2 separate regions of the Homo sapiens genome follow, and region 2 is linked to region 1. The links are contacts of gene promoters, found by promoter capture Hi-C in human tissues and cell types (Jung and others, 2019). All regions are on one chromosome and are shown on one strand. Each heading gives the region's core, a stretch centred on a gene start or on the middle of the fragment in contact. The rest is flanking DNA. Distances are from core to core; before and after follow the strand shown.

Region 1 (3,914 bases), core at 991-3,490:
CGGTTGGCATGAGCAGTTCTTGCCCCAGTTCACCTCTAATTCCCCGACTGTTGCTGTTCATGCTAAGTGAGGCCTTGTTCCCACTCGTTCTTCTTCTTTTTTTTTTTTTGAGATGGCGTCTTGCTCTGTCACCCAGGCTAGACTCCACTGGTGCAATCTCAGCTCACTGCAACCTCTACTTCCTGGTTCAAGCTATTCTCCTGTGTCAGCCTCCTGAGTAGCTGGGATTACCGACACGCACCACCATACCCGGCTAATTTTTGTGTATTTTTAGTAGAGATGGGGTTTTGCCATGTTGGCCTGGCTGGTCTCAAACTCCTGACCTCAAGTGATCCACCTGCCTCGGCCTCCCAAAGTGCTGGGATTACAGGCGTGAGCCACTGAGCCTCGCTCCACTTGTCCTTCTCACTGATGTCAGCACCAGAAATGGCCATGTGGATAGTCACTGGCAACTTAAAACCCAAGTGTGCATGGGGAAGTGCACGGCAGGGTCATTAAAAGGAGTCCAGCCTCTCTTCTTCCCTTCTCTATACTTTCACTTCTGGAAAAGACCGGAAACCTTGCCTCATTCCTCTTTCTCCCATGGCCCCATCCCCACCCCGCTTCAGCCCATCAGCCTCCAAATGTAGTCCAAGTCCTCATCTCTGTACCTGGACCATTGCATTTTCGCTGGCCCCTAGCCCCCACTGGGCTCCCCACTGGCTGCCAAATACCAGTGTGACCCTGTCCCTTCCTTGCTTTAAGCCTCTCAGTAGTTTGTTTGTTTGTTTTTGAGATGGAGTCTTGCTCTGTCACCAGGCTGGAGTGCAGTGACATAATCTTGGCTCACTGCAACCTCCACCTCCCGGGCTCAAACGATTCTCCTGCCTCAGCTTCCCGAGTAGCTGGGGCTATAGGCGCCCACCACCATGCCCAGCTAATTTTTGTATTTGTAGTAGAGACAGGGTTTCACCATGTTGGCCAGGCTGGTCTTGATCTCTTGACCTTGTGATCTGCCCACCTTGGCCTCCCAAAGTGCTGGGATTAGAGGCGTGAGCCACCATGCCCCGCCTGCCTCTCAGTAGTTATTTACCACTGAAGCAGAGTGAAGCCTGTGCTCCACATTGCTTCATGGCCAAGACCTCAGGGACAAGTGGACACACCAGGCAGTGGGAGTGGATATGGCAAAGCCAAACCCAGATCTCTTCTCAAAATAATTTTCCAGAGGGCAAAAGCAGATGGCTACACCGAGAACTCACGCCAGCCCAACACACTTTGATCTCGAGGCCTCTGGAAGGGAAGGTGCCTAATGAACTACTGAAAGCCAGAGATGCAATGACAAAGGTACCAAGACTGGAGGTGATCCAGGTCTTTCATCCAAGAGCCCCAAGACGTAGCCTAAATTCATGCTACGGTAATCCCAGCACTTTGGGAGGCCGAGGCGGGCGGATCACCTGAGGTCAGGAGTTCGAGAGCAGCCTGGCCAACATGGTGAAACTCCGTCTCTACTAAAAATACAGAAATTAGCCAGGTGTGGTGGCGGGTGCCTGTAATCCCAGCTACTCAGGAGGCTGAGGCAGGAGAATCGCTTGAACCCGGGAGGCGGTGGTTGCAGTGAGCCGAGATCACGTCACTGCACTCCAGCCTGGGCGACAAGAGCGAAACTCCATCTCAAAATAAAATAAAAATAAATAAATTGACACAGTCAGTGCCTCGCTCCCACCCCCACCTCCAGCATAGCACCATGACAGTCTTCTCACATAACAAGTCCCAAAACACACCATCGGCATCCAGAAAGTGAGAGTAACTCGTTACAGTTGAGACCTCTCACTCCCGGTCATTATCTCATTTCAATCCAAGAGGTAGACTTCTTCATCGCCCCTGACATACACATGAGGAAAAGGCCCAGAGAGGTGAAGTGATGCCTCAGGTCACTCAGCCAGTTACCAGTAGAGCAGATCCTTCAATGCAAGTTTTTCTCCAACCCTACACAGCAGTCGTACCAGGGCCCCAGGCTGCAATCCCCTGGCCCAGTGCTGATCGGTGGCTCCCAGGGACACGCCCTGATGCCAGCGCTGGCAGATGTCTGCTGTGAAGAGAGCAGGAAACTGTCCCTTGGAAAGCTGAGATGCTTACCTGAACTGTGAAAGTATCCATATGTGAGCAGCTAAGGAGACAGCAGTGGCTGGAGTGCTGCAGCTCAGGCACAGCTGGTGAGAGGCATTCCTCACTCACAGGCCTTCACCCACTGCTAGAGACAGTGAGCCCCATCCTGACCACTTCCCCTTTCTAGTCAGCCCACGGGGCAGAGACCCTGGCGTCATCTCTAGGCAACCATCCCTTTTCCAGGGAAGCTCATGACCCACGGCTGTCCAGAAGCCAGAATCTTCTCACTGCCCCGTGTCGCTCCCGCAAGGCCTACCAGAGGACCCTCATGGTGTGGTAGGGGGTCCTGGCAGGGGCCAGGGGCCAGGGTGGAGACTTGGCAGTGGGGGTGGGTTTGGTGTCCCCACAGACGAGTTTGCCGTGAGCATTCCTGGATGTGGCAACCTCAGTCTCAAGAAGAGCGACAGGACGCCAGCTCCCATGCAGAGACAGATCCAGGTAAGAAACCAGCTCATGTGTGACAAACTCACCATCTCACCATGAAGGTGACTCTTGAAAGCTCCTGTGCACCTTGGAACTGCTGAGACATCTTCTGCTTGGAGGAGGCAAGGGACAGGCTTCCTGTTTCTAAAGGCGTGTGAGTGGCGACCTTGAGAAATGTGGCCAGTGGAGCATTTTGACTGAGTTGGGTCCCCTCGTGCAATACTGTGAGACAGAACTCCCAGCGAGGCCCACGGCCTCTGACCATGGGGGTTGGAGTGGGGAAACCAATTAGCCATTTTGTTGAATTGGCTGGTTCTGACTCAAATGAGCAGTCACATTAGTAAAAATAGGCAAACGGATGTGCATTGTATTTGCCCAGAGCGAATGAGTTGTTATCCATTTCAGTAATAATGATAACCAGATATGTCTGATAAATATCTGATAATGTCTGATATATGTCTGGTAAATTTAACAAACACCGGGCTCTGGCTGGGTGCGGTGGCTCACACCTGTAATCCCAGCACTTTGGGAGGCCAAGGCGGGTGGATCACCTGAAGTCAGTAGTTCGAGACCAGCCTGGCCAACATGGTGAAACCCCATCTCTACTAAAAATACAAAAATTAGCTGGGCATTTTGGTGTGAACCGGTAGTCCCAGCTACTCAGGAGGCTGAGGCGGGAGAATTGCTTGGACCCGCGAGGTGGAGGTTGCAGTGAGCCAAGATCACACCATTGCGCTCCAGCCTGGGCAACAGAGCAAGACTCTATCTCAAACAAACAAAACAAAACATCTGGCTCAGAAGATTCCTGATTTGCAGTGTTTACTAATTTCTTTTTTCTTTTTCTTTCTTTCTTTCTTTTTTTTTTTTTTTTTTGAGATGCAGTCTCACTCTGTCGCCAGGCTGGAGTGCAGTGGCTCAATCTCAGCACACTGCAACCTCCGACTCCCAGGTTCAAGCAATTCTCCTGCCTCAGCCTCCCAAGTAGCTGGGACTACAGGTGTGTGCCACCGCATCCGGCTAATCTTTGTATTTTTAGTAGAGACAGGGTTTCACCATGTTGGCCAGGCTGGTCTCGAACTCCTGACCTCAAGTGATCCACCTGCCTCGGCCTCCCAAAGTGCTGGGATTACAGAGTTGAGCCACTGCACCTGGCCAAGGCCTGAACTCTTTCTTCTTAGGCTCATCCAAAGTTTAGCTGCTAAAAAACCTTCCTAAAAGCCAATTTAAAATTTTCTTCTAGGCCGGGCACAGTGGCTCACGCCTGAAATCCCAGCACTTTGGGAGGCCAAGGCAGGCGGATCATGAGGTCAGGCGTTTGAGACCAGCCTGGCCAACATGGTGAAATC
Region 2 (3,914 bases), core at 454-2,953, 160 kb before region 1:
TAATGGCAATGATGAATTCAAGAGAAAGTTTTCTTTCTGCTAGATTGTGTGTGGCATACAAACACAATATTCCCTTCTAAGGGTGGTCACTCCTTTCCCTATTTCATAGGATTATGGTGAGGCAAACACAGAAGCCCGCCGTCATCCTTGCGGGAAGGCAGGTGACCAGGCTTGGTAAATCACACGGTCCTTTCCCCCTTGATTGGTCCATGGTTGAGCACCAGACCCAAACAGGGCTAATCATAGTCCTTTGTAACTGATATTTGGGAAGGATAGTGTACTCTGAGGCAACATTATATAGAATGAAAGTCTTCAATGTGGTGATCTTGGAACTGACACCTAAAAACAAACTGGCTGGCTGGACGCGGTAGCTCACGCCTGTAATCCCAGCACTTTGGGAGGCCAAGGTGGGCCTAAGGTCTGACCTAAGGTCAGAAGTTCGAGACCAGCCTGACCAACATGGTGAAACCCCGTCTCTACTAAAAATACAAAAATTAGCCGGGCGTGGTGGCTGGCACTTGTAATCCCAGCTACTCTGGAGGCTGAGGCTGGAGAATCGCTTGAACCCGGGAGGTGGAGGTTGCAGTGAGCAGAGATCGTGCCATTGCACTCCAGCCTTGGCGACAAGAGCGAAACTCCGCCTCAAAAAACAAACAAAAACAAGCTGGAGGCCGGGCGCGGTGGCTCATGTCTGTAATCCCAGCACTTTGGGAGGCCGAGGCGGCCGGATCACCTGAGGTCGGGAGTTCGAGACCAGCCTGACCAAAATGGAGAAAACCCGTCTCTACCTAAAATACAAAATTAGCCGGGCGTGGTGGCACATGCTTGTAATCCCAGTTACTCGGGGAGGCTGAAGTAGGAGAATCGCTTGAATCCGGGAGGCGGAGGTTGCGGTGAGCGGAGATGGCGCCATCGCACTCCAGCCTGGACAACAAGAGCGAAACTCCATCTCAAAAAACAAACAAACAAGAAAACAAGCTGGCTGTGCAAAATTACAGAGGAAGTAACAAGGAAAGGTTCTGAGGTGAGAATGGGCCAAGCTTGCTCAGGGAACCCAGGAAGGCTAGCTGCAGAATGCTGTTTCCGTGGCCTCGGCAGCTTAACCTAGGCCTTTACTCTTAACCTTGGTAATTCCCACGCAATCTTGAGATTTCAGGCCAAACGTCACTCCTGCAAGCCCTTCCGGAACTCAAAGCATGTCTCCCTTCGCTCCCGCCGAGGAGAGACCTGTTCCCAGGATCTGCAGCCCTGTGCTTATCAGACCCACGGAGTCTGTGGAAAGGAAGGATGGGATAAGAACGATGCGGGTTGGGAGAGTTAAAAGGGTCGCGCAAACGGTCCCCGCGGGAATGCGAAGCGGATTCTCGAGTTCTTGAGCCTAGAGCAATGCTTGGGGAGCGACACGAGGGCGCAGAGCGGCAGATCGCGGAGCGGAAGTTCATCCCCGGAGCCGTTCTAGGAAACCCGGAGGACTCAGGTCGTCAATGATTCCGGGGCTGAAGTGGGCATCGACGGGTGCACTTTGCTGTTCCAGGGAGCCGGCTCGGCAGGCGGCGGCGACGTGGAACTTGGGCTAGGGCTAGAACCGGCGAAAAGCAAGCCGGAAAAGGCAAGGGGGCGTCGGTGCGCTGACCACCTGTTCCTCCAGCGGAGTGCGACGCGCGCCGATTGGCTGGAGTGCCGCCCGGGTACCGGAAGTGGCCGATGCCCGTCGCCAGTGACACCGGGACAACAGCTGCGGGCTCTGTGCGAGCGGCCCAGCAGCGCGGAGCCTCAGCGGAGTGAGCGAGCGCGGGGCAGTAGCGGCCTGCGGTGAGACCTCATTCCGTCGCGGCTGTGGGGGTAGGCGGGGGCTGGGCTCCCAGCTCCCTAGAGAGCCGAGCGGAAACCCTACGTTTAGGCCCGTTCTGACCGGGGTTCGCTGTGTGACCTTGAAGTTTATGCCTCCCTCCATTCCCCCCGCCCCCAGGCCTTCATTTCCACCTGCACACAGAGAGGGTGGGGCCTGGACACCGCCAGGGACAGTCCCAGCTCTGGTTTGGTGCCTGTCAGCCGTGGGGGTGGGAGAAGCAGGGACACTCCCTTCTGTACCGAGGTGGGGACCCGTGGGAGCTGTGGTTTTCTCAGACATTCCACCCCCAAGTAAACCGCTAGGACGAAATGGCGGGCAGTGTCACAAACTTAACGCCCTAGTGGCAGATTGTGCCCTGTGCTGCCAGACAAGATATTGGCTTATGAGGGGTGGTCGTGAAAAGGAGACAGGTTTGAGCTGCAAAGATAGAGCCCTATTGTGGGTCAGAGGGAGAAGAGAGGAAAGGAGGTTAACAGTGCCATAAATTAAATATCACCCAGATTGGGAAAAGGAACTTATTTTTACAAACAGTTATCGACACCAGCTATGTGTCAGACACTATCCTAGGCTCTTTAGATATAATGATGAATGAAATATCCAGTTAGCCATCAAGAGTATTACAGAGGCTGGGTGCAGTGGCTCATGCCTGTAATCCCAGCATTTTGGGAGGCCTAGGCGGGAGGATCACTTGAGCACAGGAGTTCAAGACCAGCCTGGGCAACATAGTGAGACACCATCTGTACAAAAAACAAAGAAATTAGTTGGGTAGTTGGGTGTGGTGGCGCATGCTTGTAGTCCCAGCTACTTGGGAGGCTGAGGTGGGAGGATTTTCTTGAGCCTGGGAAGTTGAAGCTGCAGTGAGTCTGGGCAATAGAGCCAAGACCCTGTCTCAGAAAAAAGGGAGGTATTGCAGATTCATTATATATATAAGACAGTTACACAAATTCACTTAACATTTACCAGGTATCTGAAATATGCTAGGTACTCAGAATACCAGGATGAATGGAACAGCATCCTTGCTTATGGTCTAGAGAAGAAAATAGGTATGAAAAATTAATAATGCAGTGGGGTAGCTGCTACAAGGTGAAGGAGTAGCTGTCTGCCTTAGAGCCTGGGGGTCAGGGAAGAAAATGGAGGGGGTCAGCTGGGCGTGATGGCTCATGCCTGTAATCCCAGCACTTTGGGAGGCAAAGGTGGGCGGATCACCTGAGGTCAGGAGCTCGAGACCAGCCTGGCCAACATGGTGAAACCCTGTCTCTACTAGAAATACAAAATTAGCCAGGCGTGGTGGCAGATGCCTGTAATACCAGCTGCTTGGGAGGCTGAGGTGGGAGAATCGCCTGAGCCTGGGAGGCGGAGGTTGCGGTGAGCCAAGATTGCGCCATTGCACTCCAGCCTGGGAGACAGAGCGAGGCTCCATCTCCAAAGAAAAAAAAAAAAATAGGTATCGTGGTTTCAGGACTGATTAATCCAGTGGCCCTGGCAGCATCTCCCTTGTTTTTCTGAGCTTTAGCTGCCCTCATCCACAGGCTGGTAGTGAGATGGCAGCAGCAGGTACAGGCAATAATATATGGAAGTATTTTCCTATGGTTCTCTCAGGATGGCAGGAAACTATTCCCAGAAGCTCCCAGCAAACGTCCTCAAAATATTGACCCAGATGAAGGTGGATGTCCATTTCCAAACCAGGAATTCCCGAATCCTTGCTGTTTCTGAACCAGTGCCTTGCAAGAATTAGGGCATTTATTTGACTGGGTTAACTCAGTTGGAGTGTCCTGCTGGAGCTCTTGGATGAGGTTAGATCTCTGGCAAGGAAAGCAAAGCCACTGCAAATATTTTTGCTCACATACCCCGTAAAATAATTTTGGAAGGTTTGTGTCTCTTTATACATTTGCAAGTTGACATCCAAAACATTTCCATTTCTCATCATAAATTTTAATGAGTTTCAAAGGATATTATTTTTGAGGTATTAAAATTTCGACATTTCAAAATAAAACCTCATCCCAGTTTCCCAGATACCTTCCCTTGGTTACCTTCCCTTGGAGCACAAAGAAGGTGCTCATCA

Evidence for each region. Contacts are between HindIII fragments. The study calls those that stand out against the background at their distance.
Region 2: the fragment with the promoter of ZFP3 here is called in contact with the fragment with the promoter of SCIMP in region 1 in 1 of the 25 tissues and cell types used here (mesendoderm cells).

What each region holds. Positions count from the first base shown.
Region 1 is chr17:5,232,620-5,236,533 of GRCh38, forward strand. SCIMP (SLP adaptor and CSK interacting membrane protein) reads right to left here and starts at 2,241. Exons shown (of 5, transcript NM_207103.3): 1 at 2,116-2,241. The coding sequence starts at 2,136. ZNF594-DT (ZNF594 divergent transcript) reads left to right here. Exons shown (of 6, transcript NR_152840.1): 6 at 2,495-3,384. RefSeq lists an enhancer at 2,483-2,682. The HindIII fragment of the contact is 19,973 bases long and covers 1-3,914 here.
Region 2 is chr17:5,076,764-5,080,677 of GRCh38, forward strand. It overlaps ZFP3 (ZFP3 zinc finger protein), which reads left to right and starts at 1,704. Exons shown (of 2, transcript NM_153018.3): 1 at 1,704-1,812. ZFP3-DT (ZFP3 divergent transcript) reads right to left here and starts at 1,350. Exons shown (of 2, transcript NR_186458.1): 1 at 1,124-1,350. RefSeq lists enhancers at 1,172-2,043, 1,411-1,480. The HindIII fragment of the contact is 17,416 bases long and covers 1-3,914 here.